7 separate regions of the Homo sapiens genome follow, and regions 1, 2, 3, 4, 5 and 7 are each linked to region 6. Evidence: promoter capture Hi-C in 16 types of primary human blood cells and fetal thymus (Javierre and others, 2016). All regions are on one chromosome and are shown on one strand. The core of a region is centred on a gene start or on the middle of the fragment in contact, and the rest is flanking DNA. Distances in the headings are between cores, read along the strand shown. Region 1 overlaps MAP4K5 (mitogen-activated protein kinase kinase kinase kinase 5). Region 2 holds the start of ARF6 (ARF GTPase 6). Region 3 has its middle 17 kb from the start of ARF6. Region 4 overlaps MAP4K5 (mitogen-activated protein kinase kinase kinase kinase 5). Region 5 has its middle 9.1 kb from the start of MAP4K5. Region 6 holds the start of SOS2 (SOS Ras/Rho guanine nucleotide exchange factor 2). Region 7 holds the start of ATL1 (atlastin GTPase 1).

Region 1 (2,700 bases), core at 132-2,631, 270 kb before region 6:
ACAACCTTTGACCTAGTAATACCGTATCTTAGAATCCATTTAAAACAAATATGTCTTAAATAATGAAAAGACTATATGTAACATCCTTTATGTCCAACAATAAAGAGGATTATTATATGGACTATGTTATAATCATTTAATTTTCACCAACAATAAGTTTTGGCAGACATGGTTTTAACATCCAAGGTTTTAACATCCAAGGTCGATGACAGTAAAAATTCGCACAGTGTTTTAGAGCAATATGGCAACATACCCATTATAAGTCCACATACCTTTTGGTCTCACAATTGTATGTCTAGGTTGCCTTCCTTATAAGCTGATCTATGGTAAAATATTGGTAATGATATTCATTGCAGTGCTAATTATAGTAAGTTTGTTGATATTGTGTTAAATAGTAAATAGTTTCTCTTCTAGACATTTAACTGAAGGAAATAAGGCTGTGGATAGATACAAAGCTAAGATATATGTATCCCTATTTTTATAACTTGAAAATAATATTAAAATTGTAAATGCCCAACAATAGAGGGTTGGGTAAATTATATATCCTGTCAGTGGAAAATCAGGCAGCATTTGTAATCATGTCTTAGAAGACTATGATGGGGTCATCTTCTTCCATAATGCACATGCATATACATATGTGTACCAGGAAAGAGATGCATGTACACTGAAATGTTCACTGTTTTTCTCTAGGTAGTTAGATACAGATGATGAAAATTTTTAATGACCTATGATTATGTTTTCTGATATAAATAAAACCCATGAGATTTTTAAAATTAAAAATATTAACTAACCCGAGGCTGAAGAAAAGCCTTGGAGGAAGTAGACCAAATTTTAAACAGGAGCTGTTTTTGAGTGGTGGGACTATTGGTAATTTTTTAAACACTTTTGTGTCTTATCTATATTTTTCTTTAATGGGAAAATGAGTTTGCTCAGCATTTTATTGGAAATATTTTGTTTTTTAGTTTTGATAAAAGTATGGTTGATAAGCAATTAACATAGTACCAAGTAATTTTAATGTAATTAACAAGCTTTTAATTAACAAGATTTTTGTTTTTATTTTATTTTTAGGCCAGAAATGTACACACAGGAGAGCTGGCTGCAGTAAAAATCATTAAATTGGAGCCTGGTATGTGTTAAAACCCTCAAGACAATTTTTGAGGGTTTTCCATATTTCTTTCCTTGTTTCCCTTCTTCCCAGAAGAAGTCTTTATATGTTCTATCAGGTCAGTAGAATATCTTCAATTAAATTACCCTGAAGGTGGTTAGTTAAAGGTAAGTTTGATGTGACAGTTTTGTTGCCAAATAAAATTTGACATGTACACATTCAGAATTGGAAGACACATTGACACTGTTAAAGTAATTTTCTTTTAAGATGATAGTGAAGTATTTGAACTTCAGGTTTAGCTTTTATGAGAATTTGATTAGGAAAGTATTCAATGATTTTTTGGGGTGAATATTTGGGATAATGACATTTGTTTGTCAGCTATTCCCTTTGATTGATTTAGGTTTGTTAATTCTGGTCTTAGCTTAATGCTTATTTTATTAACACTTCTGTGTGTCAGAAGACTGCTTGTTTCAAAACACATTGAATAGTTTGCTTTGCAAATAAAACTATAGTCCTGGAACGGTTTTATGATTTTGATATCCTAAAAGTTTCTAATGAGTGCAGTAGTAGTTTTTGACCAGGTAAGCGAATATTTGGTGGTATGTTCATTTGCTGGTTCATAAGCTTAGGCACGTAGGATAAGTTTGTGACCATAATTATGCCAGTTTCCTAGTTTGAGCGGTTAAAATGACTTTGCATTTCAAACACAGTATTTGAATCATTATACATGTGATTCATTAGAGAGATAATAGTACTGAGGTAGCATATGCTGGAACACTTTAAAAATAAGCTTTCAGATATGTCCCAGTATCTTTTTTGTCCTGGCAAATAGAAATTGTTATAATAATACTCTTTCAGGATCCTCTTATTAAGTGCCACCTAATAAGTTTAAAATGATCTCCAAAATGTCACTAACACAAATAGGGAATATAACAGAACTATACAAGCCTTTGCCTGTCCTGGAAAAGTCACTAGAGCAAATATTCAAATTATGTTCAAGGATGGTTATTCAAGTTATGTCCAGGTACTGGCGTGTGCTCTCAGAGAAAACAAAGATATTTATCCCTTTTCTGTCTTAAGCGAGTGCAGTGGGCTTGTTACAACACGGTTTCACTTACTTGACTTGAGGGTATGGCTTATTTTTCATTAGGTTGATGCATAAATAATTGCAGTTTTTGCCAACCTAATATTATAGCAGTTTTTGCCAACCTAATATTATAGTTCATTATAATGAATTAATGAGTGTATTTTTTAAATCCTGCAATTCTGAATTCTCAATAAGCCATATATTAGAACTAACATAAGAAGGCAATTCAGTAAAAAAGAAAAATATGTGTATGATTACTTAAAATATAAGGATTAAATGCAAGGATCATAAGACTCTTTTGAAAGGCTGGAATTTCTCACTGCCTTGTTTTGTAAAAGCTACTGATTATTTTATGTTAGATGTGACCCATGTATTAAGATTGAGTAATATTTCAACCTGTCCCCCAAAAAAGAATAACATGGAAGTTCAGTAAATATTGATGATGTGATCTTAGTATTTGGCCATTTAAAAATTTTTTTGGTTGCCTATTCTTATGCCTTGCCCCAGT
Region 2 (2,726 bases), core at 100-2,599, 340 kb after region 6:
AAAGAGAAAACCCCCAAGCCCCGTCCCCGCCAAACTGTAGAACAGTAACTCCAGAGTTCAAATTCAAAAGAAGAGAAAGTGGCAATTGAAAGAGGTGATGGTGGCGATAATCCTATGAATGGGTTTTTGATTTCTCTCCTTCCAGGGGATGGGTGGAGAATGCTCATTAAGATTTGTAGTTAGAGGTTAACCATGTGAGCCCCTCATAGAGTCCGTCCCCTGAGGTGGCACAGGAGGGCTGCACATACCAGTTCCTGTCCCGAATCCGGGTCAGGCCCAGTTTCTCCTGGATCTCGTGGGGTTTCATGGCATCGGGCAGGTCCTGCTTGTTGGCGAAGATGAGGATTATGGCGTCCCTCATCTCCCGGTCATTGATAATGCGGTGCAGCTCCTGGCGAGCCTCATCGATGCGGTCGCGGTCGGCGCAGTCCACTACGAAGATGAGACCTTGGGTCCCAGTGTAGTAATGCCGCCAGAGCGGCCGGATCTTGTCCTGGCCGCCCACATCCCATACGTTGAACTTGACATTTTTGTAAGTCACCGTCTCCACGTTGAAACCCACAGTGGGAATGGTGGTCACCGACTGGCCCAGCTTCAACTTGTACAGGATTGTTGTCTTGCCGGCCGCGTCCAGGCCCAACATGAGGATCCGCATTTCCTTGTTCCCGAAGATTTTGGATAGCACCTTCCCCATCGCGTCGGAGGAGCCGGGGCCGGGGGCATTCAGGTGTCCCGGGTCCCCTCAGCCAACAACGCCGCCGCCGCCGCGAAACCGAAACGAAGCCTCTCGGCCGCGAGAGCGCCTTTGCGGCCTGCGTGGGAGTTGCCTCCTAAGGGCAGAGGCCCAGGCCCCCCGCTCACTCGGGCATCACCGACCGCACAACTTGATTTCTCCAGTCGCCGCCGCCACCCGGGCCCTGAGACTGCGCTGGGAGCCGCCGCCCTGCTGAGGCGCGGCCCGGCCCGGAACTGCCCTTCCCCCCGCAGGCGCCGCGCGAGCGCCGCCGCGGTTCCCGCTCCTCCGCCTTCCTCTCACCGCGAGGGAGACTGCAGCCCTCCGGCCCGCCCGCCGGCCTGCGAGCACTGGGCTCCCCACCGACCCAGGACACCCGAGAGGCAGCGCGGCTCCGGGGCCCCGTCAGGTCATGGATCCTCGCGGGAACTCGGTGCGCTGCCTGCAGAGAAACAGAGAGGGAGGGGAGTTACTGCCAGAGCTCCACAAAGGAGCGAAGACCGAGGTGGCCCGCCTTTCCAGCTCGGCCCAAGGGGTTACCTCCAGCCGCCGCCCCGAGCGCGGGCTCCCTCCGGCCTCCAACTCCTCCTCCCAGTTCTGCCGCCGCCGCTGCCGGAAAAGGCGCCGAGGAAACCGCCTCACTTCCCCTCCCGACCACGCAGGCGCAGCAGAGGCCGACCGTTCGGACAAGAGCGACCTCTGTAAGGAGAGCGGCCCGCGCGCCTAGCGTCATGGGCGCCACGCGCCGGAGGGGCGGGGCTACGGCGCCTCGGAGGGCTCGCAGATGCGGCCGGCCCAGAGCCCTCGAACCTCGGACTCTGACTCGCGCCTACCCGTGGCTCTTCTAGCGTCTCCTTCCCTGCTTTTCTCTTTTGCGCTCTGCCCTCCCCTGCCCACCCGAACCAAGGGAGCAGATCTACTGGGGGGCCCTACAGGGTGGGGCCCACGGGCAGCCCGCTCTCTCCACGAACCGAGCTGCCTCCAGGCCTGTTCCCAGACCTCGGTGCCCGCCAGATGCTCTGCGAATTCCCTCCGCCCGCCCCAGCCTTCCCGCACCCTCCGCGCTCCCTGAACGTCCCAGGGAAGCTCTGTTCGCTTTTGTTTTTTTTTTTTTTCCCTTTTTCGCAACCCCTTCTTGGCTTCCTTTATCCCTTGAATTTTGTATGTTTCCTGAAAGACACGTGGGAGGCCAGTGTCTCGTGTGGAATCTGCCAGTCAGTGCAGCGCTTTCCCGGAGTTGAGTTTACTCTGCAGCTCTTTTGAATGTTTGAGCCCTGTCTGCCTATAGGTCTCGTCAAGACCAGCCCATGTTTCTTAAAAACTGCAGTATTATGAAGAGTTCCTGTGCCTTGCCGCGTTTTCACCTTTTTAGAATGCGACATCTGTTCATCTTTAAAATATCATTTTATCTCATACTGTTAGTAGTAGCTTCTTAACTACTACCCATTCTTAACTTTAAGAAGCATAGAATTTAGAATATAGAACGACCGCTTGTATGGCCTGGATCTGGGCACTTAACCTTACTAAGTTTATCTCGTGTAAACTGACCTTGCTAACTCACGTGAGGCTTAAATAATACAATGTGGAAGACTTCAGGGCACATTTTTGGTTTTTTGGTTTTTGTTTGTTTCTTGAGACGGGGTCTCACTCTGTCGCCCAGGCTGGAGTCCAGTTGCACAATCTCGGCTCACTGCAGCCTCCTCATCCTGGGTTCAAGCAGTTCTGCCTTAGCCTCCGGAGCAGCTGGAATTAGGTCGCCCACCACCACGCCCGGCTAATTTTTGTATTTTTAGTAGAGACGGGGTTTCACCATGTTGGCCAGGCTGGTCTCGAAGTCCTGACCTCAGGTGATCCACCCGCCTCGGCCCCCCAAAATGCTGGGATTACAGGCGTGAGCCACTGCGCCCTGCCAAGGACACATTTTTGTATCAAATGGTTAATGATAAAATTAGACTTAAAATAACGTGAAACCTTCAAATATCAAGGGGAGAAA
Region 3 (2,700 bases), core at 73-2,572, 320 kb after region 6:
CTTGGCTCACTGCAACATCGGCCTCCTGGGTTCAGGTGATTCTCCTGCCTCAGCCTCCCGAGTAGCTGGGACTACAGGCGCCCACCACTGTGCCCAGCTAATTTTTGTATTTTTAGTAGAGATGGGGTATCATCATGTTGGCCAGGCTGGGCTCGAACTCCTGACCTCAAGTGATCCGCCCGCCTCAGCCTCCCAAAGTGCTGGGATTATAGGGATGAGCCACCGCTCCTGGCCTGCTTTTATTTTTTTATCCAAGATTCAGAGGGTACGGGCACAGGTTTGTTACATGGGTATATTGCATGATGCTGAGGTTTAGGCCTCTAATGATCCCATCATCCAAGTAGTGAACACAAGTAGTTCTTCAAACCTGGCCCCCCTTCCTCTCTTCTGCCTTTTTGAATCCCCAATGCCTACTGTTCCCATCTTTGTGTCTGTGTGTACCCAGTGTTTAGCTCCCACTTATAAGTAAGAATGTGCGGCATTAGGTTTTCTGTTTCTGTGTTAATTCGCTTAGGATAATGGCCTCCAACTGCATCCTTGTTGCTGCAAAGGACATAATTTCATTCTTTTTTATGGCTGCATGATTTAATTTTTTAAATTATTAAACTAGAGGGAAGAAGGAAAATAGAACTAATTTCTCTTGAGTGCTTACCATGCCAGATAGGGACTTTCTCATAAGTTACCACTTTTTGTGATAAAGCCTTGCTGGGTGAACATTACCATCCCGATTTTTAGCAGGAAAACTGAGACAAAGAGATAGATTTTCCAGTGTCACTTAGCTATTGAGGTCAGGGTTGGAATTCAAACATAGGTCTATCTATTTGAGACTATTGACTCAAAATTCAATGTTCTTTACCCAAATCAATCCTGTCAGAAAGGAAACTAAAAATGCTTGCAAAAAAAAAAAAAAAAAAAAAGGTAGGAAGGGCTGGACACAATGTCTCATGCCTGTAATCCCAGCGCTTTGGAAGGCTGAGGCAGGTGGATCACCTGAGGTCAGGAGTTCAAGACCAGCCTGGCAAACATGGCAAAACCCCATCTCTACTAAAAATACAAAAATCAGCTAAGTGTGGTGGCACACACCTGTAATCCAAGGTACTCAGGAGGCTAAGGCAGGAGAATCCCTTGAACCCAGGAGGCGGAGGTTGCAGAGAGCCACAAAGATCCCGCGACTGCCCTCCAGCCTGGATGATAGAGTGAAACTCCATCTCAAAAAAAAAAGATAAGTATCATATATGGCTTATATGAGGAAAGGAGGTTCTCTTCCATCTTCAATCCTTTTTCCATTCAATGAATGGCCTTCATAGCATCATACATAGGATGTTTCCAGATCCTAATTTCTTGGGTATTTCTAACACTGTAATCCAGAATCCAGAAATCACAATTTCCTAAATCACTATTTTGATGCTCAGCAAAGCAGCATGGACCCTGAGGTGTATCAGTGGGTAACACTTTAGGTTTTATTAGATTGGGACATGCAGCAAGAAAAAGAACCTAGAAATTACCATAGGTTTGAAAGGAGAAAAATTAACATGTCTAGGATGTCTAAGCATATGGAAACAATAGCCCTGCCAACCATATTGATTGATTGATTGATTGATTGATTGATTGTTTAAAAAGAGATGTGGTCTAGCTGGGTGTGGTGGCTCACACCTGTAATCCCAGCGCTTTGGGAGGCCGAGGTGGGTGGTTCACTTGAGCCTCAGGAGTTCGAGACGAGCCTGGCCAACATGGCAAAACCTCATCTCTATTGAAAAAAAGAAAAAAAAAACAGACATGGTCTCACTATATTGCCCAGGTGGGTCTCAAACTCTTGGCCTCAAGCAATCCTTCCATCTTGGCTTCCCAAAGTACTGGGATTACAGGTGTGAACCACCACTCTTGACCAGAAGGCAATTTAGAAATGTTGTCATGCTAGTCTAAAATCCATACTGTATTCAACAAGATACCCAAGAAATAATAAAAGAAAAAGATATATTAGTATTTATTTAAAACATTTCCCCTAAGATACCACTACCATATTATTATACTAAGCAAAAAAAATAAAAAATAAAAATGTAATGTTTTAGTCTTTAATTCAAGTTTGTCTTGATGACAAAAACAGGATTTAAGATACTTCAGTAAGTTTCTAAATATTAGGTTCTTGTGTAAAATGCATTTACTGTCATAAATCAAGTATTACTCATGAGTTGGAGAGAATTAAAAATGCAATCCAATCTTATAAAAAGAGTCCAAGTCATAAAGACAAGCAATCAATCATAAAAGGTCAAGAATTTTTTATATAATATGCCAGCGTTTACCTTGAGAGACCTATCTATGTTTACCTACAGACTTGATCATTAGTTACATTTGAGATTTTTTTTTTTTTTTGAGACGGAGTCTCACTCTGTTGCCCAGGCTGGAGCACAGTGGCGCGATCTCGGCTCACTGAAAGCTCCGCCTCCAGGGTTCACACCATTCTCCTGCCTCAGCCTCCTGAGTAGCTGGGACTACAGGCGCCCGCCACCACGCCCGGCTAATTTTTTTTTGTATTTTCAGTAGAGACAGGGTTTCACCGTGTTAGCCAGGATGGTCTCGATCTCCTAACCTCATGATCCACCCGCCTTGGCCTCCCAAAGTGCTGGGATTACAGGTGTGAGCCACCACGCCTGACACCATTTGAGATTTTTAAAGTTTCAAAAATAAGCCAAAATACAATGC
Region 4 (2,700 bases), core at 115-2,614, 290 kb before region 6:
CAGGTGCCTATAATCCCAGCTACTTGGGAGAGGCAAGAGAATTGGTTGAACCCGGGGGTCGGAGGTTGCAGTGAGCTGAGATTGCGCCACTTCACTCCAGCCTGGGCAACAAAAGCAAAACTCCATCTCAAAAAAGAAAAAAGAAAGCAGACATGTAAGCAGTCATAATTTGGTAGAAAATTATGTGCCATAGAGGAGAAGTGGAAGAAATGCCAAACTCTGCCTTTATTGGGGATGAAGGAAGGGAGAGAGAGGAGTGTGAACCAAGGAAGATTAACAGAGGAAGGAACATTAACTGGATTTTTAAAAGAAGACCAGTGGTTTCTAGGTAGAGAAGATAGGAAAAGATATTCCAGGCTTTGGGTATAGTATGTGCAAACACCTGGAGGCTTGAGAAGCCGTGATGAGTTTTGAGAGATCTGCATCTGTATTCATTCCAGGTTCAGTGTGACATCTGGCAGAGATGTCATTTCAATTATTTATTTTTATTATTTTATAGATGGAGAATAGAGGCTATTTTCTGGCAGGAAACACCAGCTAATGGACTCCATGTGTCATATCAAAGAATTTGGACCTTTTCAATTATTTATTTTTATTTTTTTGAGACAGGGTCTTACTTTTTCACTTAGGCTGCAGTGTAGTGGCATGATCTCAGCTCACTAGACCCTCCGCCTCCCAGGCTCAAGTGATCCTCCCACTTCAGCCTCCTGAGTAGCTGGGACTGGCACACACTGCCATGCCCAGTTAATTTCTGTATTTTATTTTATTTTTTTGTAAAGGTGGGGTTTCGCCATGTTGCCCAGGCTGGTCTTGAACTCGGAGGCTCAAGCAATCCATCCACCTCTGCCTCCCAAAGTGCTGGGATTTTAGGGTGTGAGTACACTGTGCCCGGACTAGAGAAACACTTTTTAGGAGGAAATATCTTACAGTGTAGTGTAAGGATTTTACAAAGTGGCTAGAAATGTAGAGACCAGTTCCCGAATAATCCGGATGAGAGTTTATGCAAGACTAAATTTAGGCCCTGGTATAGAAGATGAAAGGAAGGGATGGATTTGAGTCATATTTAGAAGATGATCAAAAACACCTGGTAATCGGTGAGGGGCAGGAGGAGAAGGGTAATTGATGGCATTTAGAATTTCTGGCTTGAGTGACTACATTGATGCTATCAACAGAGTTAGGAAATACCAAATATGTGGAGTCTGGATTTTGTGTTTGGTTTTGAACATAAGGCATTGCATAGGTGAATGTGTCTGGTAGGTGGTAGGAAATGCACCTCTGGCCTTGAGAGTTCTGGACTGGGGATACAGGTTTGGGAGTCATCATCACTTTATGGGGTGGTACCTGTGAAATATAGGTGAGGTCACCCAGGAGAGTTTGTAGGAGAGCTGAGGAAAGGCTGTAGCCTTAGAGGGGTGGCAGAGAAAAATAATATATTGAAGGTGTCTGAGAAGAAACAAAGCGGTATGAGGAAGTTCTTTTCATAGGAACGAAAAGTTTCAAGAGATGATCTCTATCATCAGCTGCCTCCATTCTTGTTCCTGTTTGCTCTAACTGCAATGAGGAAGATGAATTCATTCTCCAAAAAATATAAATCTGAAGTTTTGTGTCATTTCTCCTTTATTTCCTTTGTCTGTAGAATAAAGTCTTAGAATAATATTCCTGTTAAGGCCCTGCTTATCCCAATACCGTATCCATACTGAACTTTCAGTTCTTTATATGCACTCTACTCTCTGTCTTTCAGATTTTTGCAGGTATTCCTTTAGAACACTCTTTCTCTTCCATCTTATCGCCTACTCTTTGGGTTTCTGTTTAAACATTACATTTCTCGGTGGGGGGGCTTTTCTGTCCCTTAGAGTAGGTCACACCTAGCAGCTGTATGTTTTCAAAGCTCCATGTACATTTTTTATCATGATACTCATCATTTATCACTTCTCATTTTTGCTTGTCTTCCTGGTAGACTAAAACTGCATGAGAACAGAGATCTTATGTTTACTGTTGAAACACCTGTACTAGTATATTGCCTAGTATATAGTATGTGGTCAATAAATATGCCTTGAAGGAGTAAGCAGCATAGTGGTCATGTAAGCAAGGAGTTGGAAGGGTTCATTAAGAGTAGAGTTGAGGTATGATTGGTAAGTGAGGAAGTAGAGGGAATGTAGCCTGCTCTCTGAAGCAGCTTAGCTATGACAGGAAAGAGAAATGAGGCACACAAATGTTTCTTCTTGTTTCAGGGTTTTACTTTCATCAAGACTGAGTGATTACAGCATTCAGTTACCATTCTTTAAGTTTGTCGTATCACCCAAGTGTCTAAGACGATTGCTGAGTTTAGAGATGGAATTCTACAGAGAAGGAAATCAAGACAAAGAATTTGGGAGGAATTGAGAATTCAGAAAGCAGATAAAAGGAAAAAACATAGGATGGATTTTTAGGGACTAGAGTAGGGGATAAATGTAAAAACCTCCCTCCCTTTCTGATCTGGAGCCTTGTTTGTTTATTTCCAGTCCTAGTTGTTCCACTGCGAGCATGGTTAGAGTGAGGCATGTTAATGAATGGGAGCTGGGATGGAGAACTGGGAGGACAGGATGCAAAGGAGTATTTAACATTCAACAAATACTTATAGAAGGCCTCCTATGGGGCAGACACTGTTGTGGTGCCTTGTGATACATCTAGTGAACAAAGCGGACAAAGATTCCTCCCCTC
Region 5 (2,700 bases), core at 104-2,603, 310 kb before region 6:
CTTCCTTATCTCAAATCTTCTTCCTTCCAAGTAATTGACCAACCTATTAGCTACTGTGCATGAATCAGTACAGATCCATACCTCAGATCAGCTCTTCTTCCTAAAAAAGAGGACAACCAGATGTATTGTTCAAAGTTATATCCACTGGGAGAATTTCTCCTCCTATCTTTCAGGGCCACCCCATTATGGTGTGGGCACAGAATTCTGTGGCTCTCTGCTTCAAGTTGGTGCTAGCATATTATGCAGACCATTAATAAACCAAGCCTAAACTTTTTCTTCCCCTGCTAAATGGCTATGAGCCTATAGATAATGGGTTGAAAAAAAAACAGGTGGCAAAGAAGTAAGGGCAGGTCCAATGGACATTTGTTCCATATGATTTACTTGTGTCTTCCAGATCATCTCAGGCCACCTCAGTGTATACTCTTCCATTTGACAACGGAATTCTGCTGCCCATGTTCAACTTACGATCCAGTAAATTAGGTAACATCCAATTTCTTTTATTTTCTTTTATTTTTTTAATTTTACTTTAAGTTCTGGGATACCTGTACAGAATGTGCAGGTTTGTTACACAGGTATACATATGCCATGGTAGTTTGCTGCACCTATCAACCTGTCATTTAGGTTTTAAGTCCCGTATGCATTAGGTATTTGTCCTAGTGCTCTCTCTCCCCTTGCCCCCAACCCCCTCCCCCCGACACCACAGGCCCCCGGTGTGTGATGTTCCCCTCCCTGTGTCCACGTGTTCTCATTGTTCAACTCTCACTTATGAGTGAGAACATGCAGGGTAACTCCCAATTTCTAAAGAGCAGTTAATGTCACATAGTTACTTAGTATCCTGTGGTCAGGAGTCTAGCCTCTACTAAGACCTAGAAGTAAATCAAGAGTTGCCTTTCAAACAGACAATAGCTGTCAGCAGATAACAGCATATTCTTTTTTTTTTTTTTTTTTTTTTTTTTTTTTTTTTTTTTTTTTGAGACGGAATCTCGCTCTGTCGCCCAGGCTGGAGTGCAGTGGCGCGATCTCGGCTCACTACAAGCTCTGCCTCCTGGGTTCATGCCATTCTCCTGCCTCAGCTTCCCAAGTAGCTGGGACTACAGGCACTCGCCACCGCACCCAGCTAATTTTTTGTATTTTTAGAGAGATGGGGTTTCACCGTGATCTCAATCTCCTGACCTCGTGATCCTCCTGCCTCGGCCTCCCTAAATGCTGGGATTACAGGCGTGAGCCACCGCGCCTGGCCAACAGCATATTCTTATACCAAAATCCTAGGGGTCTGCATTGGGATTCTCCTACTGGGGTTGCAAGAGACTCCATACAGTTTCCTGTTTACCATTGGGTCTGCTGAATCCTAAAGCCTAAGTGTCAGGGCAGCTTGCATCATAGCCTTCTCTGTAGTACATTATGTAGTTCCAAGTGATATGAACAAGGTGGCAGTCATACAGGTTACATGGGTCAAAGAGTAGCAAATGCAGTACATTGTCTCAAAATACAAACAGGCCAAACAAACACTGTGCATCTTTAAGGTGGATGATACAAGGTAGAGCACTACTTCCTTGTTAGAAATGTCACTAATGTGTCAGGTTCCTGAACTGGGTTTATCTCTCGTTCTCTGGTATTAGTGGTATTTTTTAAAGTATGTAGGGTGGTTGCTACTTCCTGCTCACAAGGTGCAATTTGCATAATGTTATCAAGATAAAAGACTACCATGATATTCTACTGGATATCAAGGAAACAAAGGTCCCTCTGGAATGATACTCTATCATAGAACAGAAGTCTTTAAATATCCCTGAGGTAGTACAATGACAGTGCTGTTGCAATCATGTGAAAGCAAACTGCTTCTGATTATTTTTGCTGACGGGAATTGAAAAGAAAGCTACTTTCTAGTTTTCAAGTCAATAGCTACCTTCTAGGTGCCAAGAGCTGTTCTGATTTGCTCTAGTAAAGATCCCCCATATGTGGAACCACAACTATGACTAGCATCAACATTTGATTAAATTTTTAATAATCCACATTCTCCAAAACTAATTTGGCTATTGCACAAGCCAAGAGGAGTTAAAAGGAAAAGACTTGTATCTTTCATATCTTTAATGGTGGCACTAATCTCTGTAATTTCCCTGGAGATCAAATTTAATCTTGGTATTCTACTTTGGCATGGGTAAGAAGTTAGCTAGGGAGGTTACACTTGTTCCTACCTATCATAATAGCTCCCTAGAAACCTAATGTAGGAATTCTGCTACTCAATATATCTATACTCACATATATTTTGGGACTGGAAAAATAACTCCAGAGTGGATCTTTAGTCCCACTTGACTTTCTTAAATCTCTACTTTAATCACTGGAATTTTGGCGGTATTTTGAGACTGCAGAGATTATTATTTAGAGCTAATATCAATTAACCTCCAGAATGTATGAGAATCACCCATTCCTTAGCTCACAATCACCCTGGTAAAAGGCTACAAGTACCTCTGGAAATGGCCTTGGGGAAAAGTCACCGTTTATACCTGGCTGCACTATGGGACTCTCCCTCAAAGACATCCGCCCTCACCCTTAATTAAGGGACTCCAGGTTTGTGAATTGGTTTATGTCTAAGATTCAGGTAATATGTCTTGAATCTCTGTTACAGAGATTTCAGTTAGGTTTCTACCAATCAGTCCCAGGATTTTTCCACCTACATATGTCAAATGGCACTTAAGTACGCTG
Region 6 (2,700 bases), core at 97-2,596:
AACTCTGCCATTCTGATTTTGCCCAAATGAAAAAGTGGTGCATGTTTTGGGGAGAATAATTGCTCAGCTACTGATGCCGGAACTGAATTGTAGTACTGACTTATTTTTTGTACCCTGTTCGTCTTTTCCCTTTCTCACTGCTGGTGGCTAGGGACAGGGAGTAAAATATCTTCTTTACAACCTGTTAAAAGTAATGTGCTCAGCCTCTTTAGTGGGATGAAATTTGTGGTAATGAGTTACCAGAGCCTATGCCTCTTTGGATTGAAAAGCTTGTCAGGATCTTTTCTGGGTTGCTAATGAGTGTTTCCTAGACGCCGATCCAGGTTTTGTAGGACCTGAAGCCTACACAATTTGGATGACACGATTAAGAAAACAATTCGAAAATATCTTGAAAGTTTTGTAAAAACGATATGATTTTGTGAACGCACAGGGGCCCGTGCAAGTGAAGGACCTTTCAATTCAAGCTTGATCAACGTCACTGTCATCTGCCCCTTCTGACCCTACCACCAGGCTAAGGGCTTTCCACGCCTCATCTCTCGGTCCCCACACCATCACCCTAAGAAATAGTTACTGTATCTCCTAACGATATATTATATATAGTACCTACTTTGTGTAAACATACGGTACTCATGAAAACAAGCCACGTAGAGCACAAATACGTTAAATATCCTGTCCAGCCCGAATGCCCCTTTCTCTCCACGTCCCTATGCAGCCTCCCACGACGGTAGTCCTGGGGCTCCAGCGCTACAAGAGTGGCACCGAGTCCGGATTGTCTTAAGCAGGTCGAGAGGAGGGAGCATATGGGTAAAAAGCAGTCAAACTGAAGAGTCTGGAGCGGCCCCCAGCACAGTCTCGGGAAAAGCGGACTCCCCCGGGGCCCCAGGCCCCGCACCCCCGCGCCGGGCTGGCGCCTGTGCCTGCTCCGCGGCGCGCATGCTCCGTGTTAGGCCTCTTGGGCTATTCGGGATAATGAGCGCCGGGCCGAGGGGGCGGGCCGAGCCTCGGCTGCTGGGACTCAGGGCTCAGCGGCGACCCCAAGGCACTCTGCGCTGCTGCTAAAGGGGCAGCAACGGCGGCCAGCGCTGTGCGCGCCATAGCGAGGCTCGCTCGCCCGACGCGCACTCCGGGTCGGTCCCCAGAGCTCTGTGGAGGTGACTCGAGTGGGCAGGGCCGGGCGGCGCTGTCGGCTGGGAGGGCGGGGAGGAGGCGATGAGGAGACGAGCAGCCGCCGCCGCCGCCGCCGCTGCTCACCGCCCGCCGCGGCCGTAGCGGGAGTCGGGGCGGGGCTGGGCCAGCTGTACCCCTGACGGGCCGCGAACCCAGACAAAGGAGGAGGAGCCGCCCCAGAAGCGGGCCAGCGCCGCCGGGAAAGGAGGTCGCCGCCCGGGGTCGCCCGGGCTTGCGGGTCGCCGCGCTTCCTCTGCGGGCGCTGCGGGAGGCGAGGGCCGCCTCGGCGGAGGAAGCCGACCCCGGGGTCTCCGCCAGCCCGCCGGCGCCGCCTCCGAGCCGCCTCGGCCGTAGCCTCGGCCCGGGCGGGAGGCGGCGGCCGCCGGCGAGGCGAGGCGGCCCGCGCCCTGCCTGTCAGGCCACCGGCCCGGCCCGCGGGCTGCCCCCGATGCGGAGGCGCTGTCGCCGGGGCCATGCAGCAGGCGCCGCAGCCTTACGAGTTCTTCAGCGAGGAGAACAGTCCGAAATGGCGGGGACTGTTGGTCTCGGCCCTGCGGAAGGTCAGTGCTAGGGGCGGGGCGGCCGGCGGGTGGCCCGTGGCCCCCCGAGCTTCTAACGGGGAGCAGGTCGTCCCTCCCACAGGGCTCGAGTCCCCGGGGCCGAGCCGTTTCTCGTTGGCTGGCAATGGGGGGCTCACAATTGCCTGTTGCATTCTGAAGGACGTTTCTCAAGTTTTTTTTTTTTGCCTGGTCCCGGAAGGAAGGTTTTGTTATGATCATAAAACTGGATTTCATGTTGCAGTCATTTCGTCAGGCAACTTCCGCCGTTGACCAATTTGTTGTCCTCAGGCTGGAATCGGGCAAGAGAAAGTCCCGCTGGTATTTAGACAGTTTCTAAAACAAAAGCACATTTTCAGGCCGGGTAATTACTTTTAATTAAGTTCTTTGGGAGTGTTCCCCCTAGGCGGTTTGCTTGTCAAGGGTATCCACTTATGAGGCAATGGTTTTTTGTAATATGGATGTTTCACATGTGTGAAATGTCAGTGAGTCATAATATTCTTATTCATTTTACAGTTCTCAAGGTAAATTTAAAGCGCCTTCCCACTTCCTGCAAACGGTGTCTTACCTGTTTACAAGAGATTACCCTTAGAAAATTTGGTCAGTGTCTTCAGTGTCTTCACGACCAAATTGCGATTTAGGACTTGAAATCATTTTAAGGAACAAGAAAGGGGCAACTCCTGCAAATCAGTCTTTCATGTTTGGGTGCATTGCTAGGGTGCATCTTTCCTGTAGATGGTGGCGGTCTTCCTCTGTGAATTTAGGTAGTAACCATACGATCATTTTTATAATAAATCCTTCTGTAAGATCAAGACATTTAAAGACTGTGAATAGGTGCGTGATCAGCTGTCATGCCTGTTGAGCAGGGGCTTTCTTTCTTTGCCGTTAATGCAGACTTAGTCTCTTCTGCCTTTTGTGCAAAATAACCAAGAATACATTCTAAAATAAGGAAAAAATAAAGATTAATTTAAAAGAC
Region 7 (2,700 bases), core at 84-2,583, 330 kb before region 6:
AGAATCAAGCAGCTCTGAACTTTTCAAATAATAACAACTGTTATTTCCAAATAACAATTTCTAAATAACAAGCTGATGAACAAAATATTTATTTACCCACCAAGCCACAGTAGCCTGAGACATTCTCTGGTTCAGATAATAAAATAAATGCCTTAGAGGGCTTTCGTTCCTAAGATGCTGGTGAGTTTAGCACTGTGACTGCAAGAAATCGGGAACCTACGACAAAAAGACGCCCAGCCTGCCCACACTAACCGTCCAGAACTAGGTCTGGAGCAGCAAGGCGGGCGGGGCCGCGATTTCTTCCGCATCGCTGCGCCCGTTCTTCTCCGCCTGCGTGAGCACCGCCCACCCACTCGCGGTGTGAACATACTGGGTCTCGCCTCTCCTTTCCCCTCCCCTCGGCCTGGTGCTGAATCATGAGCCCAATGTCTCCAAAAGGTAAAATCAAAGAACAAAGCCACCCTTGGGGCTGGTCTGAATGGGGTACCACGTCGGGGTGGGGCAGAAGGCTGGAAACCACAACTTTGCTCTCCTTCTTCCCCAATTCCCCCACCCAACCCCCAAATTAAGAGGAGTACTGCAGTGCTCAGGAATTCCCAAGAGGGTGGCCCTTCTCCCAGTTGCTCGGTCTGCTACCGTCCGTCCGGGACCCGGCGCGCTCCGCCTCATTGTTCCAGCGCGCCGCCCGCCGCCCGCCGCCGGGAGCCCGCGCCCTGCAGAGCCAGCGAGTTGGCGGCTCCCGGGGAGGGGGGTTGGGGCTTGGCCTGCTCTAGATCCCCGACCCCTCGCCCCTCTGGGGCCGAGTAACAACAGCCCCCTGCCCACCCCCATAGCCTTCCTCCCAACCGATCGCTAAGGCGGAACCCACAAGTCCCCGGAGGCGCCTGGTGGGTGCTGTCCAAATGCTGGGAGGAGGCGGGAGGGGGGTGGGGAAGAAGGAGCTGGAGGCCCGGCCTGCGCGAAGCTGCAGCCCTCACCCCGACAGCGCGATTCGGTGACGCGGGTACCGCTCGGCCATGGTTCCTCCGCCCAAACAGGGAGCGGCTCGGCTACGGCCCGTCTCCCAGCCGTGGACGCAGGCACCTAGCAGCCCTTGGCCCTCCCTGTCTCCACAGAAGCAGAAAGTGGAGGGCCAGAAGACCCCGTGCAGGCTGCAGAAGTTCTCATTTGCTACTCACCCCAACTGTTTCTGTCCCTGCGGTTCTTGGCCATGGTGGTCCAGGAGCTGGTGGCGGTGAGGCGCTGTCACTGCGCTCGCTGCCTTCTCCGGGGCCGCAGGTTGCTGGCGGTGGGAGGCTCCGTGCCCGCGCTGGGCGCAGTTCGCTCAGACTCTGAGGATGTTGCTGTGGCGCTGGTGGGAAGGAGTGGGGAGGAAAAGGGAGGAGAAAGCAGATGAACCAAGCTCAGCATCACAAGCCCGAGTTCACACAGATACCAGCGTCACACCCTCCCTACCTCAGTCCACCCCCAGACCGTGAAGACAGTGATAGACCACGTACCGCAACATTTTCAACGGAAAACACAAACAAATAAACAGCACCCCCCTCGAACACACTCTCAAAGAATTTAACAGCGTTATCAGAAATACACAAACCGATATACTGCATGATTCTGGATGTTCAAATACCTGTTTCAAGCACGGTTATACATTAGTACAAACAAGCTGGCAACATTTATATAGCCAAAGTAGCTAAAATAATGTGCATTTATCTACGAGGCACCCATTTTTTTTTCCATTTTAAAAGCAAGGTCATGTTAGTAAAGAGGGTATCATGCATTTTTGTATATGTATACTGAGTAGTTTGTCTTAAAATTAGAATAGCAAAATTTATATCAAGAAGATCAAGATAAATGAAAGCTGTAGATTCATTACGATCTGTAACTCAATATCCACTGGGTAAAATTTCCCACTAGATTTGCAAAGATAAGGTCCAGACCTATAGTCCAATAGCAATTATTTGAGCTGAAATCATACTACATAGTCTGGGTATGGGTGGGCCCTGGCAGCCATAAAGGTTGCAGACAATTTTGAAAGGAAAAGAAAAAAAATAAAAATACTTTCAATCTTTCCCTTTTCACTGCTTTCTCTCTGCTACAAACTTAGTTGTTTTCAGTAACCTGGAAACACTGTCCCTTTATACTACCTCAACCTCAAGATACCATCATGCCGTCCCTTACAGTTTCCTTCTGCCATTTGGTTGTTACTCACACTCTGTACTGATCGGTTCTTAGGAGATCACTGCCAGCCTCTTAATTACCAGATCCATGATCTCTGCTAATTCCTCATGGTAAGCAACTCCTCACGCTACACTCTCTCAATGTAATTTACTATGATGGCTTCAGACAGGACCTCCATGCTGATGATTCCCAAATCTATACTTGTAGTCTTCTGCCCTCTAGAAGAGAGGACATTATACCAGAGGTGTGTTTATAACTGCCTAAGGTTATCCTCACGTTGTTTTCCTACTGACATTTGAACATCAACATATCTGAAAACAAACTCCCCCACCACTGCCAAATCTTATGCATTATATTTCAGTTACTGGTTCTAGTGACTGCAGAGTCGTGAACACTGTAACCAAGTTTACAACATGGTTTTAAAGAAGTCTGTGCTCAACAGAGTTGAAATGACATTAATGAAACAACATAGGAAGACAGACATTATCTCATCCTTATACCTATAAACCAAGTTCATAGAAC

Evidence for each region. The method cuts DNA at HindIII sites, captures the fragments that hold promoters and counts their contacts. A CHiCAGO score of 5 or more calls a contact.
Region 1: a contact is called between a fragment that was not itself captured here and the fragment with the promoter of SOS2 in region 6, in 1 of 17 cell types (erythroblasts). The highest score is 5.1, in erythroblasts.
Region 2: the fragment with the promoter of ARF6 here is called in contact with the fragment with the promoter of SOS2 in region 6 in 11 of 17 cell types (non-activated CD4 T cells, total CD4 T cells, naive CD8 T cells and 8 more); the score reaches 10.6 in non-activated CD4 T cells.
Region 3: a contact is called between a fragment that was not itself captured here and the fragment with the promoter of SOS2 in region 6, in 3 of 17 cell types (erythroblasts, M1 macrophages and total B cells). The highest score is 6.0, in erythroblasts.
Region 4: a fragment that was not itself captured here is called in contact with the fragment with the promoter of SOS2 in region 6 in 7 of 17 cell types (activated CD4 T cells, erythroblasts, M2 macrophages and 4 more); the score reaches 7.6 in activated CD4 T cells.
Region 5: a contact is called between a fragment that was not itself captured here and the fragment with the promoter of SOS2 in region 6, in 10 of 17 cell types (monocytes, activated CD4 T cells, M1 macrophages and 7 more). The highest score is 7.8, in monocytes.
Region 7: a contact is called between the fragment with the promoter of ATL1 here and the fragment with the promoter of SOS2 in region 6, in 2 of 17 cell types (M2 macrophages and M1 macrophages). The highest score is 6.1, in M2 macrophages.

What each region holds. Positions count from the first base shown.
Region 1 is chr14:50,503,226-50,505,925 of GRCh38, reverse strand. It overlaps MAP4K5 (mitogen-activated protein kinase kinase kinase kinase 5), which reads left to right. Exons shown (of 33, transcript NM_006575.6): 3 at 1,069-1,126. Among named protein-coding and RNA genes, the nearest start is that of MAP4K5, 28 kb to the left of the region's middle. The HindIII fragment of the contact is 701 bases long and covers 1,031-1,731 here.
Region 2 is chr14:49,891,705-49,894,430 of GRCh38, reverse strand. ARF6 (ARF GTPase 6) reads right to left here and starts at 1,349. Exons shown (of 2, transcript NM_001663.4): 1 at 1,274-1,349; 2 at 1-1,175. The coding sequence starts at 694. The coding sequence ends at 167. RefSeq lists enhancers at 420-469, 500-819, 1,690-1,789 and silencers at 980-1,169, 1,210-1,599. The HindIII fragment of the contact is 6,329 bases long and covers 1-2,726 here.
Region 3 is chr14:49,908,735-49,911,434 of GRCh38, reverse strand. No RefSeq gene overlaps it. Among named protein-coding and RNA genes, the nearest start is that of ARF6, 17 kb to the right of the region's middle. The HindIII fragment of the contact is 4,514 bases long and covers 1-2,700 here.
Region 4 is chr14:50,523,746-50,526,445 of GRCh38, reverse strand. All of the region lies in intron 2 of MAP4K5 (mitogen-activated protein kinase kinase kinase kinase 5), which reads left to right. Among named protein-coding and RNA genes, the nearest start is that of MAP4K5, 7.5 kb to the left of the region's middle. The HindIII fragment of the contact is 3,320 bases long and covers 1-2,700 here.
Region 5 is chr14:50,540,279-50,542,978 of GRCh38, reverse strand. It overlaps a transcript of MAP4K5 not described here and a transcript of ATL1 not described here. Among named protein-coding and RNA genes, the nearest start is that of MAP4K5, 9.1 kb to the right of the region's middle. The HindIII fragment of the contact is 3,612 bases long and covers 1-2,700 here.
Region 6 is chr14:50,230,224-50,232,923 of GRCh38, reverse strand. SOS2 (SOS Ras/Rho guanine nucleotide exchange factor 2) reads left to right here and starts at 1,346. Exons shown (of 23, transcript NM_006939.4): 1 at 1,346-1,727. The coding sequence starts at 1,641. RefSeq lists an enhancer at 435-524 and a silencer at 675-1,754. The HindIII fragment of the contact is 6,352 bases long and covers 467-2,700 here.
Region 7 is chr14:50,558,778-50,561,477 of GRCh38, reverse strand. It overlaps ATL1 (atlastin GTPase 1), which reads right to left and starts at 1,333. Exons shown (of 14, transcript NM_015915.5): 1 at 1,179-1,333. The coding sequence starts at 1,212. It also overlaps a transcript of MAP4K5 not described here. RefSeq lists a silencer at 639-998 and an enhancer at 740-1,239. The HindIII fragment of the contact is 3,968 bases long and covers 1-2,700 here.